Regions from separate parts of the Homo sapiens genome. Here all the other regions are linked to region 4. Evidence: promoter capture Hi-C in 16 types of primary human blood cells and fetal thymus (Javierre and others, 2016). All regions are on one chromosome and are shown on one strand. The core of a region is centred on a gene start or on the middle of the fragment in contact, and the rest is flanking DNA. Distances in the headings are between cores, read along the strand shown. Region 1 overlaps LEKR1 (leucine, glutamate and lysine rich 1). Region 2 overlaps LEKR1 (leucine, glutamate and lysine rich 1). Region 3 overlaps LEKR1 (leucine, glutamate and lysine rich 1). Region 4 holds the start of TIPARP (TCDD inducible poly(ADP-ribose) polymerase).

Region 1 (3,046 bases), core at 283-2,782, 160 kb after region 4:
ACCAGTTAATTAGAGTTCTTTATGTAAACATCCCACACACAACACATATAATTACATGGAAGGAAATGGATCTGGTAGTTGTAAGATTTTTTTGTTTGCCAGTTTTTAAGTTTCTATTTCCTATTTTAGACTATCAGTTTCTTGATTACCTATTCCCTGCCCTAAACAATTGTCAGCTAGGCAACTCTAAATTTGCATTTCTAAAGGGACAGCTCCTAGGTGAAACAGGATAGAGAACTTATATTTTAAAAGCACAGAGCTGAGACATTAAGCCAAAACATTGTATGATAATAGTTTCTAATATACACAGGCAGGCACCCTTACCAATGGGGGTTTTCTTAAATATGTAAATTTCTAAATTGGATTTGTGGCTTCAGGGTGGAGCCCTTCAAGGAACAGGGCCAAGAAAGCGTGCAGCTTCCAGGGCCTGACAGGCAGAGCTGTAAGATAGAACAGATCCCCAAAAATCAAGGGCTCCGTTTTTACGCCTAATCCTGGGTCCCCCAAAAGAGAAACGCTATAGGACGAGATAGTGATTTTATGGTGTATCTCATTGCAAGGACATTTTTCACTGAGGCTACTGGGCAACCCAAAGCCAATCAGCTCAATCTGTAATCAGTCCATTCCCCAATCCATACTTTCCGGGTCCCCAAGAACATGGTTTTCTTATTCGGTGTGCAAAGAACCAAGTATCACCCTGTAGTAACTCAATTGTAAGCATCTGCCATTAGCCATCCCTAAGAGTATATCTCTTACCTAGCTATTACACACCAAGGCTAAAAGTTCTCTCGTAAAGCCTCTCTCATAAAGCGATTCCTTCCTCCCTTCCTTCCTTCCTTCCTTCCTCGCTCCCTCCCTCTCTCCCTCCCCCCAAGTCTTGCTCTGTCTCACTTTTTTTTTTTTTTTTTTTTTTTTTTTTTGAGATGAGTCTCACTCTGTCACCAAGGCTGGAGTGCAGTGGTGCAATCTCGACTCACTGCAACCTTCGCCTCCTGGGTTCAAGCAATTCTTGTGCCTCAGCCTTCTGAGTAGCTGGGATTACAGGCATGTACCACCATGCCTGGCTGATTTTTGTATTTTTAGTAGAGAGGGGCTTTCGTCATGTTCAAGACTGGCCTTGAACTCCTGACCTCAGGTGACCCCACCCACCTTGGCTTCCCAAAGTGCTGGTTTTACAGGCCTAAGCCACCAAGCCCAGCCAAAGCAAAGTAATTTCTGATATCCTCAAAAGTTAAAAAGGTCGGATAATGTAATGCAAAACAGAGCAGAGTCATAAATTTTGAGAAGGATTTGTTTACTTACAATTTTGTGGGTTTCATGAGGAAAACAGGTTTTTCCCTAAATGGGGCCCGTGGTACCTCCTCTGTTTCTCCTAAGGAATCCCAGGCTGGCAAAAAGAAGTAAATGGAGAAACAATTCAGCCAACCAAGAAGAAAAAAAAAGCTTTTTCTCAAAAAAAACAAGATCCAAGAAGAGAAAAGGCATAAAGACCTTTAAAATATATGTATAGTGTAAATATCAACTTTTAGTTAAGCCAACTTTTAACCATAGAGCTTCGTTAAAGAAATCCTTTTAAATCTTTTATTACTATACTCTAGCCAGGACAAACAGCCTCTGGCTTTTAAGCTTTTTTCCCCCTCAAAGGTCTCCTCCTAAGTGAAACCAGTAAGTCTTATCTAAGATTATGACTTATCGATGGATGCATGAGGTGTCTCCAAAGAGACAGCAAGCATTTTTACAATATGTAGAATAGCCCCTGAGGTAGCTCAGAGAAAAGAAAATTCAAGACAGGAAATCAGAAGCTGTCCATGGAGAAGAAAAGAATCAATAAATGGCAAAAGTCCCACAAGTATCCAACCAGAAAGGACTCATTCCCAAAGCCAGCAATTGAGCCCAGACTGCTACTATAAAAGGGTAGTCTTAGCTACTGAGCTACAGCATGGGGCAGCTGCCATTAGTCTTCCAGGAAGGAGTCTGGGGCAGTCATTTTCAAGCTTGTAAAGGATTGTAACTGCTCAAGAGAATTTTCTGAAGCTAGTTAGGACATTATTCATCCTTTTTAAAAACTTTAATTATGGAGAATAAAAGATTTCTAAAATTCCTTTTAAAAAAAATGGTATACTCAGTTTCAGTAGTGACTTAATCTGAGTCTTTTACAAGCCCAGATGTTAATGTTCCAGGATTTTATCATATAAGCAAGAGGTATTCTTAGAGAGGGGATAGAGGAGATATCTCCATCGTCCCCAAGAATTCACTCTCTGTAATGGGCTTAAGATAACAAAAGATGACAAGAGCCCTGTAGAAATGGGATCTTTTAAGACAAGACTCACCCAAAGGCATGACACATTTGGGATGAAGAGTGTGCTGACTCATCTCAGACACCCGGTCCTCTCATACTGACATGAACTGAAAAATTCCTGCCCTTTGGATGGTGGAGACTGAGAGTGTACCTCCACATGGTCAACAGAGTCAAGCTCCCAAGGACGTAAAACAAGATGAGAAGGAAATCTCGTCCAGTTTTTGTTTCAGGGACGTGCAGCAAAGTTTGTAACTGACCAGCCCACAGGGCCAGCTTGAGCATTGGGCTTATAGGGATCCTAGGCCCTTGTTCTATCCTACGGTGCCCCTCTCCATGACAGAAGACACATAAAGATAAAAACTGAGAGGAAAGGAGTGAAACAATGTGAATATTCATAGCACAAAGTGCACTAGATTTGCTACAGCCTCAGACTAATCACACAAATCCTTTTTCCCATTAATCAGACTTTGCAAAGGAGACAGTGATTTTTACCATCAGTTTGCGCAGAAAGGGGCCAGAAGCCTGGCTGGTAGGAAATTCTTACCCTTTTGCCGGCATGCTAGCTTTCCAGGTTCCTTATCTCTCAGCAGCTTTGGTGATGCTGCTTGCTGTACCATAGCTGTGGGGGCCATGCTGCATTACAAAAGAAAATCATCTCTTTCTGTTTCATGGAATCATAGTCAAAAACCTCATTTTGCAAGATGTAGCCAGGCTACATGGGGGATCCAAAATGACGTTTTTTATTCC
Region 2 (2,909 bases), core at 94-2,593, 180 kb after region 4:
AGTAGCTGGGACCACAGGTGCACACCACCATGCCTGGCTAATTTTTGTATTTTGTAGTTTTTTTTTTTCTAGAGATGCTGTTTTGCTATGTTGCCTATGTTGGTCTCGAACTCCTGGGCTCAAGTAATCTGCCTGCCTTGGCCTCCCAAAGTGCTGGGATTATAGGCATGAGCCACGTGCCCAGCCTTATTTTCTTAATATATGTAGTTTATATCTTTATCTTTTAATAGACTAGTTTTAACATTAGCAGTATATCAAACATATTGTTGTGCTGCTGACATTTGCCACTTAACTATATATATTGGAAATTGTTCCATGTTAATGTATGTAGATCTACCTTGTTCTTAACTACACCAACATTTTTGTTACCAAGAATATGCTATAATTTACTTAATCAATTTTCTTTTCAACATTTATATTATTTCCAATTTTTGTTATTACATGTAGTATTTGTATTTATGTTCTTGTGAACATATGTTGTTCCAAAGGATAAATTTCTAGAAGTGGAACTACTGAAAGAAAGCAAATGCCAGTTTAAAATTTTGATGGGTATTATACCAAGTAGTCCCTTGAGAAATTAGCATTAACTTACATTTGGCCAATAGTTGATGAAGTGACCACTTTCCTACATTTTGTTAATATTAGGTTTTTCTTAATTTTTTTCAATCTCTTGAGTGAAAAATGTTACCTCGTGGTTATTTAATTAGTATTTGTTTTTTGCCAATGAAGCTGAACATTTGTTTGTGTATTAGACATTTATATTGATTACCTATACACATATATTGACCATGTTATTGGGTTATTTGCTTATTTTTGTTTATTTGTAGGTGCTTTTAATATAATATTGGCATTATACTGTGTTTATATATGTTGTTAATATTTTCTCATGGTTGCTTGTCCTTTCACTTCATTGTATTTTTTTGCTGTATCTTTTAAAAATTTTAATAATATCCTGTGCCAGGTTCTGGTTGGTTAAGAGTTTTGTGTCAAGTTCTTTTAGTTGCAAACAATGGAAACTTATCTGACACGAACCTAAACACAAAAGAGAATTTATTGGAAGAGTATGAGGTGATAGCTCATTGAAAGAAAGGAAAAACTCAAGAACCCTGGCTTTGGAAATGGACTAGAAACAGAGCTTGTTCAGGGATCTGGGAAATCTGGGGTAAATTCACTCAACTTTTTTTTCCTTGCATCATTCCCTTCAAGATTCAAATCCCAGAAGAGTCTCACTGGCTTTACTTCTTTTATGTGACCACCCTCCAATTCCACCCCCTTAGCCTGATGAAGGGGGGAACCTTGATTGATAGGTCTATGAAGACTTCATACAATGAAAGCAAAGGTATTCACTAAAGAGAAGTTAGAGTACTGTTATCAGAAGAAGAGGGAATAGACTCACGCAAGTAGAAACAACAACATATGTTTAAAACTTATAGTATTAGAATTAGCTTTTTAATCTATTTAGTATTAATTTTGTATATAATTTGAGGTAGATTTCCAATTTCATGTTTGTTGTTTCTCAGATGTCTGGCTGTTGGCCCAATATCACTTATTAAATTCTTCATCCTCTCTCCCTTGACTTGAAATGCCACCTATTAATTTTTCTTCTAGCGTATTTCTGGACGGTCTGTTTTGTGTTATTGATTTATTGTCTATCATTGAGTCAGGGCCACACTTTTAACTACTTTAGCTTTATAATATGTTTTTGATATTTTGTAGGACAAGTGTTTGGTTTGCCTTTCAGGTTACCCTGGCTTTTTAGTATATTTTCTTTTCTGGACGAACTCTAGAATCAGCTTTTCCGATTCCATAAAACATGCTGTGTTATGATTTAGACTGGGATTGCATTTACTTTCTAGAGCAGTTATATTATCTCGATAATTGACATCTTTATAATCTTAAGGCTTCTTATCCAGGAACATGGATTCCCCATTTATTCAGATGTTCTTTAAATCCTTCAATACAATTTTATAATTTTTAAATACATCGTGTATTAGTTTAATCCTTGGACATATTTTTGTTGCTTTTGGGAAAGATGTCTTTTTATTACATTTTTTTGAATGCTATTTATTTCTGTAGCTAGCTTCCTCATTGAATTCTTTTATTAGTTGTTTGAATTTTTTAATTTTCTTGAATATTTGTTATATATGTTTATAACACACACATACCTGTAAAACAGTCACATCATATGCAAATAGTGCCTGTCATCTTTTTATTTCCAATAGTTATACCCTTTTCCTCCTTTTTCTTGTCTTATTAAATTAGATTGGACCTGTAGAACAGTGTTGAATAATAAACTTGTAGAATGCATCTTTATATTTATTTCTAATGTAATGCAATCCTGCCTAGTATGTTTCTGTTTTTAAAAGGACATCTGCTATAGGTTTCTTAAAGATACCTTTTATCAATTTAAGGAATTCTTCCTTTTATTTCTAGTTCTTTAAGTTTATTTAAAATCAGATGACTATTGAATTTTAATAAATGCTTTTCTATCTTCTATTGAGATGATCATATGATTTGTTTTCCTTTAATCTGTTAATATAGTAAATCATACTAATGGATTTTCTAATATGAAGCTAAACTTACATTTTTGATAGAAAGCCATTTTGATCATGTTACGTATTTCAGGGTTCCCAAAGTCTCATGTATTTGCTTGCCTTCTTCATGATTCTTGCCACTGCTATAAGTACTCTGCACTATTCTATTTTTCTGTGAATTATCCCTTAAATATATGTATTTCTATGCATATAGTAAGTGGAAAAACACTTATCACTTGCCATAAATAGAAGATTTAAAAAATAAGTATATAGCTACAGGTTGAGTAACTTTTATCTTTGGATAAAAGCATTGGATAAAAGTACTTTGGTCCAGAAGTGTTTTGGATTTTGAAATATTTTCAAAATACATACCAG
Region 3 (2,923 bases), core at 197-2,696, 210 kb after region 4:
TGGAGCCACATAGCTCCCAAGAGTTTCTGTGTTTTGTGTTCAGATACCAGGGCTGTAGGAAAATATCATCAGGTTGGGGCAGTTTTAGGCAGGTCTGGGTTCAGACTCTTCATGGGTGAGGCTTGCTGCAACCACTGTGGGGGAGGGGGGTTCTCAGGCCAATGATACTATGTTTCAGAGGGGATCTTGGCTGCCTCTGATGCATAATATAGTTTGCCAGGGAAGTGGGGGATAGCCAGTAGTGAGAGACCTCACCCAGCTCCCACACAGTTGGAGAGGCTGTTCTCACTCCTGCTATGCCCCACTCAGACTTTACCCCAGGCCGTGAGCTACTCTGCTGAAAAACCAAGCATGGCTTTCAAACCTTGCCCCTCCCCATATGCCCACTCCATCAGTGGCGCCTCCTGGGCTCTCCTGCACTTGCTTGTGTCCATAGCAGCTCCCCCTTGTCCCCTGGACTCTGCTAAAGGAAATTTGTACCCAGTCAGAACCACTACCAATTTCAGCTGGGAGCTTCCCACTCCAATTCTGCTGGCTGCCTTCCCCAAGGGTCCCTGTCAGATACAGTCAGGGATGGCTTCACTGGGCTCAAGCAGGAGACTGGGAGTACATGCAAGACACTTCCCACTGCTACTTCTACTTTTTTGTGGGACTCCCTAAATCCATTTCATCTCTAGGTGAGGTTAAAACCTCCCATGACCTGGATTTTCAGATTCCCCAGTGGGGATGTGTATTTGGAAGTAGGTTTTCTCCCCTTCACACTTTGGCAACTCAGTTTTTCACCTGTTTTGCAGTTTGTCGCAGCGTGCTGCTTCCTTCAAAGGATCTGTGCAATCAAACAAGAATTCATATAGTAACGTGAATTTTAATCATATAGTTAATCTAATTTAGAATCATTATATGTGTCTTCCTGGTATGTTCTTGCAGTAGTTCTTGGAGCAAAAGATCATGGTGTGAGTCTCCACATGCTGTTTTGTCCATCCATGTGGGAGCTACACATTAGCTGTGTCTCCTACCTGCCATTTTATGTTATATGTCTGTTTTTCAATATTCTCTTATAGTACATGGAGCTTCCTTAATATCAATATTTTGAATTCCTTTAGGGATTTTGTAATTTTCTTTTTGATTGGGATCTGTTCCTGGAGAATTATTTTCTTTTGCGGGTGTCACGTTTTCTTGCTTTTTTGTGTTTTTTGATTGTCCGTATTTTTATGTTGATATCTGAGTTTCTGGTGTAACAGTTGCTCCTCCCAATTTTTTGAATTTGCTTTTGGAGATTTTCTTGTCACCTCTCTGCCTTCTTGGTGGGCCCTTGAGGTGCACAGTGCAGGTGTGGAGTGAGGCAGTGAGTGTGGCTGTAAAGCCTAGGCTTGGAGCCTGGTAGGCAGAGTGTGGGGCGCACAAGAGCTACAAATTTTACATTAGTAAAAAGTAGAATTGTTTTTTCAGGATATGTTACTTCATATTTAGAAACGTGTTCATAAATATTATGAACTGTTATGTAGATGTTTTGTGTGGCCAACAGAATGATGCTTTGAATTCTGAACACTCTTTTGAAAAATATTTTAATGATTAATTTATACATTCTGATGTACATATTGGTGCAAGTTCCCTGGTAATTGCTCAGGAGAGAGAGCAATCAAACAAGAATTCATATAGTAATATGAATTTTAATCATATAGTTAATCTAATTTAGAATCATTTTTATTAGCGCTCAAAAAATTTAAAACTGAGCATAGTTTTTGTGTTACAGTTCTGGGATTGGGGTAATCTTTCTGCACCTCCCCCAACCATTTGATTAACATTTTATAAAAATTTAGGTTAGCTCACTCATTCATTCTTTTTTCCAGATGGTATATCTTGAGAAATATATTTGAATATTCACCTCTCTATATATCATTTGAATAATTATATGTGTTTTATATCATTGTTACTATTTTGACAAACTCAAGATAGTTGACCATCTATATTTTATCATTAATATGTAGATAAAATCATTATAGAGGTAATCTAGTGATATATATCAGAGAATGGAAAGAATATCACCCTTTCAATATGTAATGTTGTCTAATATGTAGCCTTAGTTCATGTAGCTTTTTAGTATCTTTAATGACACTATCCAGTTGAATGTGATTGCGTAGGAGGGCTCAAAGAAGGTAGCAGAGTAGGAGTGGGGAGAGGATTGGGTTAGGGAACAGACAAAAAAGTAAAGTAAAGCAGTTGGTCAACACTTTTATTTAAAAGGAAATGCACAGTTGATATAAATCGTAATGTTTATGTTCAATCTTAACAGCAAAATATACTTCAGACTCATGCTTAGACTGGAAGTAGAACATTGCCAGCTGAAAGAACGAATGCCAGATCTACAACATTCTGTCACTGAGCCATACATAGGTCTGTGATTTGTTTTCCTTAGCTTTTCTTAATAACTTTGTTTTTGCAAAATAAATATTTTTTTGAAATGAAGTCAATGGATTTATTATGATACTAAGCCAGAAGATTTTGGAGAGGCACAGTGGGAGAAACACATAAAAAGACTGAAAGGGCCTGGTTAGATTTGGGAGCTGCTTATATGAAGAAAGAGAGAGCTAATTAAGCATGCCATGTTCTCTAGCTCCTTTTATTTTGCTTGTGTTTGTTTGTCTTCTCTTTCTCTAACCTTTTGCGTTTAGCCTGTCTTTATTTTTCAAGTTTTCTGTTAAAAGCAGCATTTTCTTTGAATACTTGTCATCATCATCCTTCTATGTCAGACTTTGTCCAGTGTTCTCAGGTTCTTCTCACCAGAATCACATTCCAAACACAAGCCTGTCTTTGTGTCTTTTTTAAAACTCAGTGAAAAGCAAATTAGAATATGAGCTGAAAAACAAAACATACTTTGTTAATGTCTTTGAAAAATTAACTTAAGCATAACCTGTTTTGTAGC
Region 4 (3,307 bases), core at 186-2,685:
GTAAATAAAAGAGCCATTGTTTTAAGTCATTATATTTTGGGGGTGGTTTGAACACAGCAATAAATAACTGAAATACTACTAAAAGCATAAAGAATGTATAACAACCTAATTGTTACAAGGGAGTGGAATTAATAATCTACAAGAAGGCACAAAAGGACAGAAAAGAAACAGAACAAATGAGAAAAATAGAAAGCCAACAGTAATATGGTAAACTCAAATATTAGCTTCTAGGCAATTCTATGTATGAGTAGACACTGACCAAGATCTTGTCTCAATAAGATTTTAAATGTAAAGATTTTCATCTTTTACCTATTGTCCTCTGAATTCCGCCCATATCATTCTCACCTTAGTTTAATGGCCCTGCCTTGATGCAATTTGAAATAAGCTGCTAAGGAGATAACACCCTTAATCTATTCATTGCTGGTGCGCTTACCCAGTCTGGTTTAGAACCGTTTAACAAAGGCTTAGAATCATAATGTCTATGATTATTACCTCTTAGCTCCTAGTTTTACTGACTTCCATGTCTGGAATTACCAGCACTTCTTTTTCGTACATATGGATTATATGAACTAAATGTATTGTTTCTTCCCTCACTACTGAAAATCTATTCAATATATGGAGTTACAATTCAAAGTATTTTACAACCCAGAAAATATGGCCATTCCGTATGTGGTGTGTATTTCAGAGGTGCTCTGCAAGCTCCATGAGGACAGGCGTGAAGTTCAGGCTACATGCCTGGTACGTAATAGACGCTCTGACAGACATTTGCTGAATGAATAAGTTAGTCACTACGGCGTTTGTGGGCTTTAAAACACAAGTAAATGCGCTTCTATCGCCAAAACCTCACAGCTTCCCTTCTGCAAGGTGGCGTACAAGGCCCACGAAATAGTCGGCCGCCGCAGGTGCGCAGCCTGTCCAGCCTGTCCGGCTCGGGGCAGGCGACCTCGTCTGGTGGCAGTGGGGGAGGCAGCCGTTTGCTTCCTCACAGGGTGTGCCGGAATCAGAGGCTGGAGGCGTCTGGGGAGTAGGCAAATAAACAAAGCCAACCGCACCGAAACGGGTCGTTCCGTTTCACATCCTCCCTCGGGTGTCTGGGTCTTCTCGGAACAAAGTGACCCTCCATCTGTCCGCAGGCAGGTGGAGCCCGTCCCACGCGGCACGCGCCTTCCTTCCTCACAGCCGCGTGTAGACGCGGACCCTCAGGGACACTGCGGACGCGAGAAAGGACACGCCCCCTCGCGGGAGCATAAGTCCACCGCACAGAACTCGCGCGCCTCCCCTCGAACGAACGCGCACGCGCGCGCAGGGGGCGGGTCTTCTTCCCGACACCCACTGAGCGCCCGGCCTCCTCACCCCACCCCACCGAACTCCGGCCGCCCAGGCTCCGCCTCCGCGACGGGCCGTCGGGAGGAGGCGACCGGAAGCCACTTAAAGCAGAGATCGAGGTGACAGGCGAGCTGGCTGGACTCGGAGCGCGGTCGAGGCTTTCTGCGTTCGCGGCGGCGGAATGGCCCGTGCGCGGCTCGCCGCGTCGCGGCTCTGTGGTCCCTAGACGTCGGCTCCCGCCCTCGGCGCTGATCTCCGGCGCGGGCACTGCTTTCCACTCGGCTCCTGTCGTCCGTTCTCTCAGGCTCCCGTTCAGGTAAAGGGCTCCGGGAGGGCACTGAGGGGCTGAAGAACCCTAGCGGGGAGTGCGAGCGCCGGCCTCGCGGCTCCGGCCCCGGCCCCGGCCCCGCGCCGGCAGTGTGCGGGGCTCTCGCGGATCGGGGTGATTGATTTTGAGACTGCCCTTTGTACCGAATTCACTCGGGTCCCGTCAGCATGAAGATGGAATTGGTTTACACTTCTTAGGCACTTAGAGCCTGTGGCAGGTGTATACATCAGACCGAGGCGCCGAAGGATTTAGTTGGGGTCGCAGGCGCCTGCCCCTTCCCCGTTCGTCAGGGTGGGGGCGCGTCTATGCGGCCTCCCCCGCGGGCCGACCCCGGGTGCTCTGAGGCGCCTAGGAGCCCTTCCCAGACCCCGGGGGGGAGGGCACGGCAGCTACGGGAGCCTTCCGGCTACCCCGCGTTTCGGGCTGCAGCCCAGAAGTTTGGAAGATGTTTTCACATTAACTTTGAGAGCGCACAAGTCTTCGTCTTCCTCCCCGCCGCCGCGGGAAGCGCTCGCCGCCTTTCCCCCGCGCTTCGCGGCTCAGTTCTGCGAGCCCCCAAGACCCGTTGGACGCTCCTCGGGAGGTGAGCTGAGGGGGTAAAGAAGAATTAGAGAGAGAAGGCGCCGCGAGTAGTCTCTGGGATGCAGGGAGGCCGGGGCGGGTCGTTGGTCCGAAGGAGGCTGGACAGGAGTTGGGGGGCGCCCAGGCGCCTGCTGAGGGGAAGGCGGGGGCGGGGACGCCCGGGAACACCCGGAATTGCAGAGCCGGGCGGCGCCTCAGCTGCACTGCGCGGAGTTGGCGCGGCCCGGGACCAGGAGCTGAGCAAACCGCCGCGGCCAACAGGAGGCGTCACTCGGACCCGGGCTCGGCGCCGGGGTGTCGCGCGGCGGCGGGCGGGCAGGCTTTGGAGCGGCAGTTTTTTCGGAAAGTGCTTTTGGCCGGGAGTGCCGCAGAACCCCAGCGTCACGAGGTGAGGGGTGTCGCGGTGTGTCGCCTGCCGCTGGAGACCGGAGGATGTGTTCTTCTCATCTTTATTTTTCTGTTATGAAAACTAATTGAGGAGCTAGGTTCTAGTGGCTTTCCCCCTCCAGCCACTTCTCCAGTTCTCTGCTTCTTCCTCCCAGTTTTGTTTCCGAGTTTGATGAAAGGGCAATAATAGGAAAAGTTGCGCGCGCGCGCTTGCGTGTGTACGCGCAGACACACATATAAATAAAATCGATTTAGTGTCTATTTTACCTTGATTGGGTTTGATAGGAGTGGTTAGAGAGTGTGCGCGTGGGGAAAGCACAGGCCGGTTTGGTATGGTGGAGAGGGAATACCACAATCTGTGCCAATTGTGCCTTGAGGCAATAACACCAAATGATGAATAATAACGCCTGGCTTGGCTCCTTTCCAGTTGATTTATGTCTCATGTCAGATCCCTCCTTCTTCGTGAAGCTTTCCCTAACAATGCCAGCTTACAGTGAACTCTCCTTTTTCTGCCTTTTCCTTTTGTACTTATCATGTAAATTTAATACTTCGTTATAAACTGCTTTGTATTTTACTTTTCTGAATTTGATGGACTTCTTACACATAGATTTATGACTCTCCAATTAAATTTTTAATATTCACTTTTGGGGACACTCAGTTTTACCTTTTGTTGTTGACCCACAA

What was found. The method cuts DNA at HindIII sites, captures the fragments that hold promoters and counts their contacts. A CHiCAGO score of 5 or more calls a contact.
Region 1: a contact is called between a fragment that was not itself captured here and the fragment with the promoter of TIPARP in region 4, in 8 of 17 cell types (non-activated CD4 T cells, activated CD4 T cells, naive CD8 T cells and 5 more). The highest score is 8.7, in non-activated CD4 T cells.
Region 2: a contact is called between a fragment that was not itself captured here and the fragment with the promoter of TIPARP in region 4, in 1 of 17 cell types (non-activated CD4 T cells). The highest score is 5.8, in non-activated CD4 T cells.
Region 3: a contact is called between a fragment that was not itself captured here and the fragment with the promoter of TIPARP in region 4, in 1 of 17 cell types (naive B cells). The highest score is 5.3, in naive B cells.

What each region holds. Positions count from the first base shown.
Region 1 is chr3:156,834,973-156,838,018 of GRCh38, forward strand. The region is part of intron 2 of LEKR1 (leucine, glutamate and lysine rich 1); the gene reads left to right. Among named protein-coding and RNA genes, the nearest start is that of LEKR1, 10 kb to the left of the region's middle. The HindIII fragment of the contact is 183 bases long and covers 1,442-1,624 here.
Region 2 is chr3:156,854,667-156,857,575 of GRCh38, forward strand. All of the region lies in intron 3 of LEKR1 (leucine, glutamate and lysine rich 1), which reads left to right. Among named protein-coding and RNA genes, the nearest start is that of LEKR1, 30 kb to the left of the region's middle. The HindIII fragment of the contact is 4,326 bases long and covers 1-2,909 here.
Region 3 is chr3:156,886,004-156,888,926 of GRCh38, forward strand. The region is part of intron 3 of LEKR1 (leucine, glutamate and lysine rich 1); the gene reads left to right. Among named protein-coding and RNA genes, the nearest start is that of LEKR1, 61 kb to the left of the region's middle. The HindIII fragment of the contact is 2,994 bases long and covers 1-2,923 here.
Region 4 is chr3:156,673,155-156,676,461 of GRCh38, forward strand. TIPARP (TCDD inducible poly(ADP-ribose) polymerase) reads left to right here and starts at 1,436. Exons shown (of 6, transcript NM_015508.5): 1 at 1,436-1,642. TIPARP-AS1 (TIPARP antisense RNA 1) reads right to left here and starts at 2,559. Exons shown (of 1, transcript NR_027954.1): 1 at 17-2,559. RefSeq lists an enhancer at 932-1,231 and silencers at 1,642-1,691, 1,722-1,791, 2,162-2,521. The HindIII fragment of the contact is 8,735 bases long and covers 1-3,089 here.